Linked DNA regions of Homo sapiens: all the other regions are linked to region 3. The links are contacts of gene promoters, found by promoter capture Hi-C in human tissues and cell types (Jung and others, 2019). All regions are on one chromosome and are shown on one strand. Each heading gives the region's core, a stretch centred on a gene start or on the middle of the fragment in contact. The rest is flanking DNA. Distances are from core to core; before and after follow the strand shown. Region 1 overlaps NCOA1 (nuclear receptor coactivator 1). Region 2 overlaps NCOA1 (nuclear receptor coactivator 1). Region 3 holds the start of ITSN2 (intersectin 2).

Region 1 (4,811 bases), core at 331-2,830, 250 kb after region 3:
TCAGCCCCAGGGGAGTGGGAAGCAAGATGAGTGGGGCCAGGCCACCTACAGTCCCCTGATGGCAGGCACAATCACTAACACTGAGGGAGAAGCCAATGGGCAGCCACCAAGCACCCAGAGGTGGTCCTAGGCATGGAGCTGGCAAACCTCCTTGGCCCCAAGTTCTCTACACAGGCAGGGGTGGAGGCCTGAACTCTTAATCCAGGAGAGTGGGTACTCCAGGTACCTGGAGATCTGCCTGGGTGCTGCGTACAGAGGGCCCTGCTGTACCACAATCTCTACACAGGAAGGATGGGGTGTCTCAGGCTAGCAATCCATGCAAATGGGTCCTCTGACTGCCTGAAGCTATGCCCGGGAATGGGGCAGAGAGTGCCCTGCTTTACCATGGTCTTGGCATGGGGAGAGTGGGCTGGCTTAGCCTGCTGATCCCGGTGAATGGGTGCTCCAGTTACCTGGAGATCTGCCTGGGTGTGAAGCAGAGAAGGTCCTGCTGCACCCCGACTTTTGAGTTTTAGGAGTATTCACATAGCATAGATGATTCAGGCACCAAATCCTCATGATGTCTTTGCTAAGGCCAAGAGGTTTTCTTTGATGTTTGCCTTTGAAGGTGTTTTTAATGTTTGAATTTACCCTTTTCCTGGTGTTATTGTCCTTCTTGGGCCCTGTCTTTGTCTGATAGTGTCTTACCTGACTTTCAGAGGCCTAAACTTTTTTCTCAATCCTTTCCAACCCTAGGTTACTAGGATTCATATATGCCCCAGGAGTATCTGGAAGCTTTATTACTTGCTTTTCTGCCTATTGTATCGATTCATTTCCATTCTTTTTTTTTTTTTTTTTTTTTTTTTTTTTTTTGCTATGGGGTTTCATTCTGTTATCCAGGCTGGAGTACAGTGGTGTGATCACAGCTGACTGCATGCAGCCTCAACCACCTGGGGTCAGGGGATCCTCCCACCTCAACCTCCTGTGTAGCTGGGACTATAGGTATACACCACCACACCTGGCTACTTTTTTGTTTTTGTTTTGTTTTGTTTGGAGAGACAGGGTTTTGTCATGTTGTTCAGGCTACTCTTGAACTCCTGGGCTCAAGTGATCTGCCTGCCTCGGCCTTGCAAAGTGCTGGGATTACAGGTATGAGTCATTGCACCTAGCCCATTTTCATTCTTTATATCAGACGTTTAAAATAGAAATGTTTTAAGATCTCTAGCCCAGCATATTCTCATATCTCAGGCAGTGGGAATCCTCTTGGAAAATTTTCAAAAGAATAGTTTCTAAAGCCCAACCACACCTACATGTCAGAATCTCTAGGGTGCAGGGCCTGTGGGTATGTTTAAAAGCCTCCTAGATAATTCTGATGCACTGCAAGTCTGAGAACCACTGACATAGAAAAAGTTATTTCTTCATGTAAACTTAGATAATTAAATAATAACAGCTAGTGTTTATTGAAAATAAGGTAACATATATTGTAAGCATGCACTAATTCTAGCTGTTAGTATTAATATTGTTATATGCTAGGCTCCATTCTAAGTCCTTCACATATCTTGTCATTTATTATTCACAAGAATCCTATAGCTACCACTTGTATTCCCATTTTAGAGATTAGCAAATCAAAGCACAGAGAAATTGAATTATTCAAGTTTATATAGCTAGTGGGTAGCAGAATTGTTATTTGAATCCAAGTAGTCATTCTGATTCCAGAGCATGTAATCTTAACCTACCATCTTTACAGTCTTCCAGGTGATTCACAGAGTTAATTTTATTGATTCCCAAAGGGTTTGTGACATTACAGAATATAGCAAGAAAAATATATTTGGATAAATTATGTATTTATGTTGATTTTGTGTAGGTATTGAGGAAGCAGAATAACACAGTAGAAATGGCCTCAGTTTACAGTCAGATAGACTTAGGCATGAATCTCTGCTCAACTGCTTGTTACTAGTAGCTATGAGAAAGTAAATTATCACAGACCTCTTATTATTTTGTTGGTAAAGGAGGATAACTATTTTTACTTCATGGGGTTTTTGAAGAAATAACATAAAATAGAACCTGTAATATATTGCTTGGCACACAGTAGATGGTTAGTATCAGAACTTAAGGAATCCTCTAAGAAGTTATGTTGGCTTCTCTGCAGGAGATTGTAGTAAGCCTTAGTCTAGGACGTTGTTGATGGAATAGCTGATGGGTACTGGTCGATGGTGCTGGTGGGGGCCAATGCTGACTGTCAATGTTGAGAATCTAACAAGTGCCAAGCATTGTCCTAGGCTCTGGAGATAAAACGGTGAGTGAGACATAGTCTCACTGCTTTCAAGAAGCTTGCAGTTAACTTATCTATATAATCAGATAGATACATACACAGTTACTTTTTTTGTTAGATGCTAGGACACATAGGAGGGTTACTCAGCCAAACCATTGCAGATGAGGAATGGCTTTCTAGAGGGAAGAGGATGAGAATGTGAGGGATTAGAGTAGTAAGTCCAGATAGGAGGAAAAGTAAAGGCTGGCTGAAATTTGTCATTACTACAAAGGTGTTCCATTCATCCAACATTTATGAAAAGATCAGGGATCTTAGGAAACTTTTATAAGGACAGTGTTAGAATATTAAGAGCCTACTTTTAGGTTCAGTTTTTACTAAAGCAGACAATTTTTCAAAGTAAAATAAAAATGGCACTCTTTATATGTAATACTGAATTTTCTATCAAATAGCACTTTTTGGAGTCTACATGCTTGTTACTTGGTAGCATTGTCACATTAGGTTATACATTAGAGGAAGAGAGAAGAGAAACAAAGGAATAGTAACCTTCAGAGGATGGAAATGATGATTTGTATGTGGGGTGAATTTCATCATGAGTTGTGTCTGCTATTTGCACATTTCCCTTTTCCTACCATCCTTTTTCACAGATGATGAAAAATAATTTGTTACATAGTTACCATAGTACATAGTTTTAATTTGATACCGTTTGTTGCTCTTGTATGGATTTGATAGTTGAGATTTCTTTCCATCTTTCTCCAATGTTCCCAATAAAATAGCATATTAAAAATGCAAGAGAAATACCATTTCTTTTGGCAAAACTGGGAAAAGTGAAAGGGAATGAATAAAGAATTTCTTGGAAGGGGAGGAATGTGAGTCTAGGGGAAGGAAGATGATGTTGTAATGGATAAAATGATATCGGGGATTATAGGAAAATAAATGAAGTTGGTCTTTAAAAATACCCCCAAAACAGAGGCAGCAGTTCTGCATGTTTTGGTAACCTGATGAGTGTGACTTGATATAAGAGTACACTTTTGATCTCCTACTTGCATATCTGTATGACACCTACCTAGAAGTACTGTAGTTTTTTATATGTACTGTAGTCCTGCTCAGGACATGAGCAGTCCCTGACTAGAACTGAGGAAAGTAGAGCAGTTAGTGTGGGTATTTGGAAACATTGGAAAACAGTTGTTAGGGGACTTAAGCTCTTAATCCCTGAGGATTTAGCAGAGGCTAGAAAGAGGAAGGGAAAAATGAAATCCAGTCTGTAAAAAATTGATTCTGAAAGCGATACTTTGGAAAGTTTATAAAATGAGGTCGAAATTGTGAACATAGACATGTTTACTGTGATGACAAATCTTAGTATACTAGGAGTAGCCAAAACCTTGGATGGAGAGATACAGTTTTAGACACCACCCCTCAAAAAGAGACTTTATAATACTGTCCTACAAACTTACCATCAAATACTTGTTTGCATCTTTATGGTATGAAGTTGGGGAGGATGGTAGAAATGTTGAACATAAAAGCATGTTGCTCCAATGACTGTGGTGTTGTTGGGGTATGTTGAATTTCAGGGCCCTTTGAGAGAAGAGTATTCATGCCTAATTGGGGTTTAAATTTTAGCAGACTCTTCATTACCTTTGGGCACTTTTTTCTAAGAGTTTGTTGTGATTGTTTTGGCAGGTACAAAAATCCTTCTCGAAACTGAACGTTATGATCTCTCCACCTCAACTTCTGCTGGTTTTCCTTTTACCTCTATCCATTTTCTCTCTTTTTTACTTGTTCTTCCAGCTGTAACAGTGTCCCTCTTGAAATATTGCAGTGCTTCCATAGTAATCCATTCTCTTCTCTTTCTGCACACGTTCTGTTGGTCATCTCATACACTCCACTATCATTAATGTGTTAGTGATTCCAGAATCCTTTATATTCCACTTCTTTGAAAGTCATCTGAACATATCTTCTTGGGTGTCCTGTTGCCACCTCATGATTAATGTGTACGTAACTGAGTTAATCAGCCTCTCCCTCAGACATCTGTTATCTCCCATAAACTCAGGCTTGGCTAAATGGCATTAATGAGTCCCTCATGCCAGGAACCTTGGTGTTCATAGGAGCTTATTCAGAGAATATAAACAAAGTTTTAGCCAGAAGATGCCTCATCACAGTACCTGTATTTTATTTAATACCAAAAAACAAAAAATTGGAGCCAATCTGAAGTCATAATCACTGCATTTCTTAAAAACTGTGATATACACACACACGCACACACGCAGAAATATTTTACAGACAGTAAAATCTCTGTGGAATATTTAATGACATGAGAAGGAACATATGTAAACTTAGTGAAAAAAGATGCTCTTAAGCAATATATTCATTATAATTCCATAATTATTAAAATAAAACTATATAGAGATATTTATAGAAAGAATGCATATGCAGATATTCACTTTAATTCTAGATAGTACAGCTATGGGTGATTTTAATTTTATTTTTATTTACCTGTATTTTCCAAAGTTGTGTAGTAAAAATGAATTACTTTTGTAATTCACACATGCAGACAATTTGGCCT
Region 2 (4,407 bases), core at 394-2,893, 140 kb after region 3:
AGCCAGGTACTGTGCTAGCTCTACATATTACATTTTATAAATGAGGAAACAAGGCTCAGGGAAGTTAAGTGGCTGGCGTAAGATTGCACAGCTTATAGGTGTTAGGGATGACATTTGAGTTCAAGCCTACTGAGTGGAAATCATATTCATACCTTTCAATTGGCTTCTCTTCAAGCATGTTCGTCACACTTGGCCACATTATACTTTTTTTTTTTTCTTTCTGGACTTTCTTTCTCTTGAATACCTGTGTTGTGGAGACTCCTGCAGTCTTGTTCCTTTCTGATGACCCGGGAGCCATATATACCAGTTACTTGATGAAAATGTCACTTTAAGATTCTTGTGGGCTGGGCGTGGTGGCTCACATCTGTAATCCCAGCACTTTCAGAGACCAAGGCAGGCAGATCATGAGGTCAGGAGTTCGAGACCTGGCCAATATGGTGACACCCTGTCTCTACTAAAAATACAAAAAATAGCCGGGTGTGGTGGCGCAAGCCTGTAGTCCCAGCTACTCAGGAGGCTGAGGCAGAAGAATTGCTTGAACCAGGGAGGCGGAGGTTGCAGTGAGCCGAGATCGCGCCATTGCACTCCAGCCTGGGTGACAGAGCGAGACTCCATCTCAAAAAAAAAAAAAGATTCTTGTGCTGTTTCTGGTCTCACCTTTGTACTTCAGTAATGTTGATTCTTTGGTGCTTCTATCCAGGTAAGGTTATCTTTGGTTGGTTTTGGATTCTTAGCCATAAAATTCTGCCTCTCAAGTTTTGTTGGTATTTAAATAGCTAAAGCTTAGTGTGGTTTGGTTTTGTTTTTATTTTTTTGGAACAAATTGCTTGGTCATTCTCTGTGTTTCCACTTGTAATTTGAATGGTTGATTTTATCTTAAAATTCCAGTTTGCCTATATAGTTAAAACATTTACATACTTTTATTATCAAGCATAGATTTGATTATTTAACAGTAGGTATTCTATTGTGAATGTATGTATGTATATAAACATATCACATCATATTTGACCAGATAGTTGAAGGATGAAATGTCCTTGAGTTTTGAAAACATCTGTATGTGTAATATTGACTTTACTTTGGTGAATTTGTTTGTAAGAAACAAAAAGTTATTTGTTCTGCAATGTCTAATATCTCCCTCTCCATTCTAAATGGTACAGGTAGTCTGTAATTGAATTTCTAAGTAGCTACTCAATCATTCGGTCAAGACGTAGTTATATGAGTACGTACTTTGTTCAAGGTGCTGTGCTGTAAAAAGATAGTGGTTATTGGGAAATTAACCGATAAAATATAGATCCTGTTCTTAAGCAGATTATGACCTGAGAGAGGTGATAAGACAAACATACAAATACCTATAATAGTAATTGAATGTGATGAGTGCTGTGAGACAGGTCCTGAAACAGTGCTTTGAACATTCAGGGAGAGGGAATGATTATTGTATTTTCATTTGAGAAAAATCAGGGCAAGTTTTATGGAGGACTTGGTGGTAGACAAAAGCATTGAGGGCAGGGGATGATTTCTTTAAGAATAGAGACAAGGAGAACAGTATGTTCAGGAAGATTAAATAGCAAAGATGAAAAGACGGAGTAATGCAGGGGAAAGTGCAAGGAGTGTGGCATCAGCTGAAGTGGGAGAGGGAAGCATATCGTCTAGGTGTAGTAAGAAAACATTGGTGGATTTTAATGGAGGGAGGTGGTGGGGAGCAGTATGTAGTAAGTATGTAGATATGGATGAAAATGAGAAATGTCAATTTTCCAAATTTACGTGGATCTTTTCTTGGCAGGTTTTATACCCCAAATTTCATATTTTTTGTTTTTGAAATGATTCCATATGTAAGGCTTACCCACATTGGGAACTTATTCACTCATTTTTATGTATATTTAAACACAGATTATATGGTTTTTTTTTTGAATAGAAGTTGGTACAAAATCTTTTTCACTGCCTTATACTTTTTTCGAATTAACTTTTTTGTTTTTTACTTTTGATTATGAATTATGCCTTAACCTACATGTGATATGAGATATGCATATTGCATGATACTTGCCCAAGAGTTAGCCAGTTGATCCAACATAATTTATTAACATATTCATTTTAATAATTCCCTACTATTTTGAAGTCTACATTTTGATGTTTCTATACTCCCTTTTTTCTGATTCTGCATTTCTTTATTCCAAAAATAGATACATCTATTTAATATGTGGCAGTTCCTTACTGTTTTATATATTGTTACTGATAAGGAAAATCCTGCCATCAACCTTAAAAAAAAATTTTAACCTCCCAGTGATTCTTAGATGTTGATTTGAGTTTATTAAATATATAGATGAATTTTGGACCAACCAGGATTGCAATATTCCAACATTCCTCCAGCATTGTTCTATGGCCCTTTGTTTATCAGATCTAATTTCATGCCCTCTAAATGTGCTTTATATTGTTCTTAGTGTACTTCTTTTCCATTTTATCTTCTATTTCATACCATTGACTTTTTTTTTTAAGCAGTAAGTATTCTTTTAAACAGTGTATTATCACTTGGCATTTTTTAAGATGATGCAGTGGACTTGTTTGTTCGGTGTAAAAATGTCTCTTTGTATAAATATAAGTGTATCTGACTGTATAAATGAGATTGGTCATACAAGTTGGAAGCCCCTGGCTCTCATTTATAGTTCATGATTTATTTTACTGATTTATTTATGCCTTGCCATGTTCCAAAAAGGATTTAAGGCAGGATGTGTCTTGAGGAGTCTTGGACCTTGTTCCAGCCCTGTCTATTATTTGACTGATGCCCCTAGCCAACGTTACTCGTTACACGGAGGGAACAGTGTTGAAGACAACTAGTGTCACTGAATGTGCTGTGGTGTGTCTTTTGCCAAACTGGTAGTAATTCAGAGATGATACAGTGTAATTGGGGTACCTTTAAAGATAAGTCCTTTAAACCTTGATAGCATACAACAGAAATTGGCTGGAAGTATCCCTTCAAGTATCCCTGCTGGGTAGGCTGATAAAGAGCCTTAACTCTTGGGACCCCAGGCACTTTTAGCCCGGTAGTTTCTTTTTTTCTTTCTTTCTTTCTTTTTTTTTGAGAAGGAGTTTCGCTCTTGTCGCCCAGGCTGGAGTGCAATGGCGCGATCTCGGCTCACTGCAACCTCCACCTCCCAGGTTCAAGTGATTCTCCTGCCTCAGATTCCCTAGTAGCTGGGATTACAGGCATGTGCCACCATGCCTGGCTAATTTTGTATTTTTAGTGGAGACGGGGTTTCTCCATGTTGGTCAAGCTGGTCTTGAACTCCCAACCTCGGGTGATCCGCCCGCCTTGGCCTCCCAAAGTGCTGGGATTACAGGCGTGAGCCACCGCGCCTGGCCAGTAGTTTCTTAACATTAAATTATCCGCAAAATGGAAGAAATACTAGAGGTCTGTGAAGATGTTTCTTCTCTTTCAGTCTGTTGTGGTGGTTTGTAGTTTACAGGGGCTTGGGTAACTGGATTTTTAGGTTTATTATTTTAAATAGTAGACTCAACACTATTTTGTATTGCAGTAGAGATCACTTATGCAGATCTTTTTAATACCATTTCATAGAGATTAAGTGGTCACCTTGAGGCAGAGGAGTTAAGAATGATCTAACTTAAAGATGACTTACTCAGTATTTTTTCACAAAAAGACAAATGTCCCAAGTTTGTTGGTCCTTTTTGTGAAACGTGGCTATAAGTGCTATGTTACCTAGCAAATAAACACACTTAATCTGCCCCTTTGAGATAATAGGGTAAGTTCTTAACAGTGATTCAAAAAGTAACTACCTTTCAGAACAACAACAAAAAATTTAATGCTGTAGGGAAAGGATATTGAAAATGGATATTTAGAATTTTTCCTGTTATGGAATTTAATTGTTGAAAATTATATGTGTTAACTTTAAGAGCTTTTTTTATATGTATACTTGAACTTGGAAACAGAATTTTCTAACCTGTATAAAAATCTTTTAAAAGAGCTGTTTAGTGATTTTGAGCCCATCTGCTGAAAACACAAAAAGGCAATACCATCTGATTAGTTTATAAGAACAACTGATTGCCATCAGAAGGTATGGAAATGCACTAGCTGAATTTTAGCAAAAACCTTTGCATAAATGGTGAATGGGATTGGAAATTGAATATCATGTTTTATTCAGTGCACCCAGTAATGGAGTTCTTTTGGTTTTATTCATATTTGTGAGGTAACATTTTTTCAGCTATGATAACCATTAAAACCAAATAAAATAGTTATATCTCATAAAAATGAACCGAATATAGAACTAGACCTTCAAGTTGTTATATTACAAAGTATGAAAGCAAGATATAAAAATAACAAACCATGTTCATTTACATTGCTGTCACCAAAAGTAGTGAGTGGTATTAATATAATAACAATATTAGGAAAAGCACAAA
Region 3 (4,871 bases), core at 1,354-3,853:
GAGACGGAGTCTCACTCTGTCGCCTAGGCTGGAGTGCAGTGGTGCGATCTCGGTTCACTGCAACCTCCGCCTCCCGGGTTCAACGATTCTCCTGCCTCAGCCTCCTGAGTACCTGGGACTACAGGCGCACGCCACCATGCCAGGCTAATTTTTTGTATTTTTTAGTAGAGACAGGATTTCACCTTATTGGTCAGTCTCAAACTCCTGACCTGGTGATCCGCCCTCCTCGGCCTCCCAAAGTGCTGGGATTACAGGCATGAGCCAGGGCACCCGGCACATAGATAACTCTTTTTTAAATGTATGAACCAAGATGACTCTACCAGATAAGGCACAGGTGCTGCAGTTAAAAGGATCTTGGTTTGAAACCTGGCTATTGTACTTACTAGCTCAGAGACCTAAAGTAGTCAAACTTCAGGTTAACATTTCACTTACCTTTTTGATGGGAAGATAATAATTACTCCTAGGGCCTTAGTGAGCTTTAAATGATTATGTAAAACACTTAGCATAGAGTCTAACATGCAGTTACGTGCTCGATAAATGACAACCATGGTAAACATATTTTATACTGAAGAAAGTATAGTTGAAGGAGACAGCCAATATGTGACCCTTTTGTCTTACTAAAGATGGAAATTTGTGAAACTCTACATTAAAACTAAAAATCCTAAGGTTACATGATTTTCTACTTTTTAAAAAAGATATACTAACTACATAAGGTTAAAGGATTTTTTAAAATAAGAAAGAAAAAAAGAAAAGCTTCTTGAAAGCTGCTGAGTTTGGGTGATGGGTACATGCTATTTTTGTGAAAATACAAATTTTTTAACACTATTAATCCAATCCCCAAAACATGCCTAACACACCTCCTCATATTCAGGAGAGATCAAGATTTTAGCCTTGAGATGTACCGAACAATGGTAACTCCCTGCTTAGTAATTCTGTACAGGTCAAGTTTTCTTGGACGAGTTTACCTTTCATTACAAAGGTGGGCACAGGGAATAGTTATCAATGCATGGAAGGGTGAAAAAATGCAAGCTTTTCAACTGCTTATTAATATTACATCAAAATAGCAGCAATGCACATTTTTTCCACGTTTTCAAAAACATAAAATACATCCACTTTATTTACTTTTGAAATTACAAGAGAGTCACAGGCACAGCCAAAAAAAGCTAAAGGAAAACACATCAGAGTTGTCAGTATCTTTAAATTTGGAAGGACGTCATTATTAATTCGCGTAAATGTTTTATGCGATGTTTCTAGGTAGCTTTTAGGTTTTATCACTGATTAACAATATAGCAAACCAGCACAGGGAGAGAGGCAATTTTTCGAAACGCTTAAGAAGCTTTAAACTACAAGAGCTATGCTACCTAAACTGAGCTCACTAACAACGTAAAATTTCAAGTCACACCTTGCCTATTTCTGAGTAAGCAAGCAAACACTAGTGAGACAAACTAGAAGCATGGAGCAAAGCAAGTCATTTCTATGCTAACCTTAATTCCTATCGTAAAGGGGTTGGCTCCATCAAAAAATATTCCTATTTCAGTATTAACACAAGTTTCAAATAAAGCACACTTGCCATTGGTAATTCTAGAGCGACAAGGCGCATAATTAATAAATCCAAACGGAGCATCTTTCTATAGAATACAAAGCCATCTGCAGTTTCAGCCTCGGTTTACCCACTCACTATGCATATGCAGACGTCTTTAAAAATAAATAAATAAATACACAAATAAACTTTATCTGGCCTGAGAGATTACATCTCTCGGTGCTTCCTGTATATTCTGGAAGTCAATAACGCTGAAGGTAAATTTAACATTTCCAACTCCGGAGGAACGCGAGCGGTAGACGCCAAGCATCCGCCCACTGTCCTCTCGTGACTCGGGCTACTTTGACGCACCGGGATGCGGCTCACCTGACATTCGGCACCAACCCTTGCCAGGAAGGAAAACCAACTCCGCGAAAATAAAATGGGTCCCCGAGGAGGCGTGCGGGTGCCCCCAGAGCTCTCTTCTGCTCACACCCCGAAAGCGAGGGGGCCACGCCACCCCCGACCCTCGCCGGCGTCCGCCACCTGCCAGACGAGGCCGCGGCCAGGGACCCGGGCTCGGCCGCAAGGAAGGGGCAGCCCAGCCCAGGCCCCCTCGGCGTCTGTCCCGGCCCGGCAGCAGAGGAAGGAACCCGGGGCCGGAGGTTTCCGCCCCGCACGGCCGAGCCCGCCAGGGGCCTAGCTCGGGGGCCGCCCGTACTCCCGAGGACCCGTCCCCATCGTGCGGAGCGCACAGCCGCCTCAGCCCGACCCGCAGAGCCTCCGGGCAGCGGGCGCGGCGCCCGCACCTGCCCCGCGCCTTGCTGCAGCCCCGCTAGCGGCTTCACCCACCTGGCGCCCTCGCCGCGCCTCCCGCTCGTCACAGCGCGACTCCGCGTCCCTCAGCACCGGCAGCCTGGGCGCGGGCAGGCGCGGGGAGACCCTGCTCTGCCGCCGTCGCCGCCACTGCAGCTGGCTTGGTCGTCAGGCCGCCGCCCGCGAACCTGTTGCGTAGCCTGTCACAGCCGCTCAGGGCTCCGCCGGCGCCGCCTCAGCCCCACAACAACATGGCGGCCGCGGCCTCCGCAGGAAGCCGGGGGGCGGGGAGGTAGGCGCCGGGCCGGGCAGCTGACGGCCCGCCCGCTGCCGGGCACCGACTCCCCACCCTCCGGAGCCCGAAACTGCCCGGGCGTGGCTCCTCGCCCCAGGAGTTCCGGGGCATTGAACCCTGAAGGTCTGCTCCGAGTCGGTCGGGTCCGAAGCGCTCCTCTCTGCCCTCGGGGAGGCCCCGAAGCCCCAGACCTGGCAGCCCTTCCTGGAGTTGCACAGACCCACCTGGCTCCTCCTCCCCGAGGTAACATGCTGAGCTTGGGTGGTGCTTTTCCTGCCACGGCAGACGCCGGGGTTTTGGAAAGTCCCAAGCAGTGCCTGCCACATCCCTGTTGCACCCACCACGGGGTTCTCCCTGGAACCTTCTCACTCGCCGAAGTTTTCTCCACTGATCTGGGGGAACGAATTCTCTGGGAATTGGGGGGTGGAAGGTGGGAAGGAGGTTGATCCCACCCTTGCCCATGGGTCTGTTACAGGCCTCTTGAACCCTTCTCAGGGACCTGGAGGACTTAACCATACCCTCGGTCATCCATTCACCATTCCTCGCCCTCCTCCATAACACACGCGGAGCGCCCACGAGGAGCACCCTCTACGCTAGTCACACTCCGCCGAGCAGTAGGAAGACTCTGTCCCCATAGAGCATAGCACGACGAAGCTAAACTTTCCTCCCCACCCCTCGCCAAGGGACAGGCGAAGCTCCTACTCAGAATTTGTCTCTTTTCTCCCCTCCCGGTTCCTGGTCTCCTCACAAAAGACCAGACTTCAACTCAAGCCGCCACCGTATCCCAAAACCCCAAAGGTTTGCCCTTGACAAGAAGCTTCTTCAAGGGGAAAGGCTTTCTTTTGATTGGGGTGAGGGAGGAGTTAGTGTTTCCTAATGAACGTAACCAAATGTCGGCCTGGCACAGTGGCTCACGCTTGTAACCCCGGCACTTTGGGAGGCCGAGGCAGGTGGATCATCTGAGGTCAGGAGTTGGAGACCAGCCTGGCCAACATGGTGAAACCCCGCCTCTTCTAACAATACAAAAATTAGCTGGGCGTGGTGGCGGGCGCCTGTAGTCCCAGCTACTCGGAAGGCTGAGGCAGGAGAATCGCTTGAACCTGGGAGGCGGAGGTTGCAGTGAGCAGAGATTGCACCACTGTACTCCAGCCTGGGCGACAAGAGCGAAACTCTGTCTCAAAAAAAAAAAAGTAACCAAATGTAAGACTCAAGATTTTTGGATATAAGACCCAAGATTTCTTTTTTTTTTTTTTTTTTTTTTTTTTTTTTTCCTGAGACAGACTCTCACTCCGTTGCCCAGGCTGGAGTGCAGTGGCGCAACTGTGAGATCTGTGCTCACTGCAACCTCCGCCTCCCAGGTTCAAGCAATTCTCCTGCCTCAGCCTTCCAAGTACCTGGGATTACAGGCACTTGCCACCACGCCCGGCTAATTTTTGTATTTTTAGTAGACACTGGTTTCACCATGTTGGCCAGGCTGGTCTCAAACTCCTGACCTCAGGTGATCCACCCGCCTCATCCTCCCAAAGTGCTGGGATTGGCGTGAGCCACCACGCCCGGCCAAGACCCAAGATTTATTTTGGCTTTTAGAAGCAGGGTGAGGGCTGGTCTGGGGTCCAAAACTCATATCCCTTGATTTGATCTGTGTAGATCAAATAACCCCTGGCATCCTTTCATTCCTTACCTGTTGAGGCAGGTGAAGGTGAGATGGCTCCAAACCCAGGCCTATCTGAACTGGCCAGCCAGCTTAGGAGGAATTTACCAAACATCGATGATGATAAACAGGCTTTTCCCGCTCTCACACTCAGTGTTTTTCCTAACTCTTCGATTAGAACCTGACCAAGACCTGACAGACAGGTCCTGAGCTTCAGTGACACAGAGAAGCCTGACTCTTTTATCAGTCTAGGAGGCCCCTCACTTGCTGGGGACCAGCCAATCTGTCCTTATCTGCAAACAAACCACCCAGGCCAAGGATAGCAATCTTGAGCACGTGGCCTCATTCCCATTGCACCCTTCACCAGTTAACTGATATGCTCTTTTGGAGCCCATATTTGAGAGTCAAAGCCCCAGAATCCTTCACAACATAGTGCTCCAGAGAGTTGGTCTGAGAGGTAAAACCTATTTTTTATTCCTGTTAGGCACATAGCTAGTCTTCATTTTTCTCCCATCCTTTGACCAATGTCATTTGTGTTTTCGGGTTCTAGACCTGGTGCAATTTACCCTGAGTCTCCTTTCCTTCTAAAG

Evidence for each region. Contacts are between HindIII fragments. The study calls those that stand out against the background at their distance.
Region 1: a fragment that was not itself captured here is called in contact with the fragment with the promoter of ITSN2 in region 3 in 2 of the 25 tissues and cell types used here (psoas muscle and spleen).
Region 2: a contact is called between a fragment that was not itself captured here and the fragment with the promoter of ITSN2 in region 3, in 3 of the 25 tissues and cell types used here (dorsolateral prefrontal cortex, spleen and thymus).

What each region holds. Positions count from the first base shown.
Region 1 is chr2:24,613,380-24,618,190 of GRCh38, forward strand. The region is part of intron 3 of NCOA1 (nuclear receptor coactivator 1); the gene reads left to right. Among named protein-coding and RNA genes, the nearest start is that of NCOA1, 120 kb to the left of the region's middle. RefSeq lists an enhancer at 1-16. The HindIII fragment of the contact is 5,058 bases long and covers 1-4,109 here.
Region 2 is chr2:24,497,054-24,501,460 of GRCh38, forward strand. The region is part of intron 1 of NCOA1 (nuclear receptor coactivator 1); the gene reads left to right. Among named protein-coding and RNA genes, the nearest start is that of NCOA1, 8.0 kb to the left of the region's middle. The HindIII fragment of the contact is 5,514 bases long and covers 1-4,400 here.
Region 3 is chr2:24,357,933-24,362,803 of GRCh38, forward strand. ITSN2 (intersectin 2) reads right to left here and starts at 2,604. Exons shown (of 40, transcript NM_006277.3): 1 at 2,372-2,604. RefSeq lists silencers at 2,018-2,417, 2,428-2,477, 2,488-2,787 and an enhancer at 2,888-3,037. The HindIII fragment of the contact is 6,107 bases long and covers 1,183-4,871 here.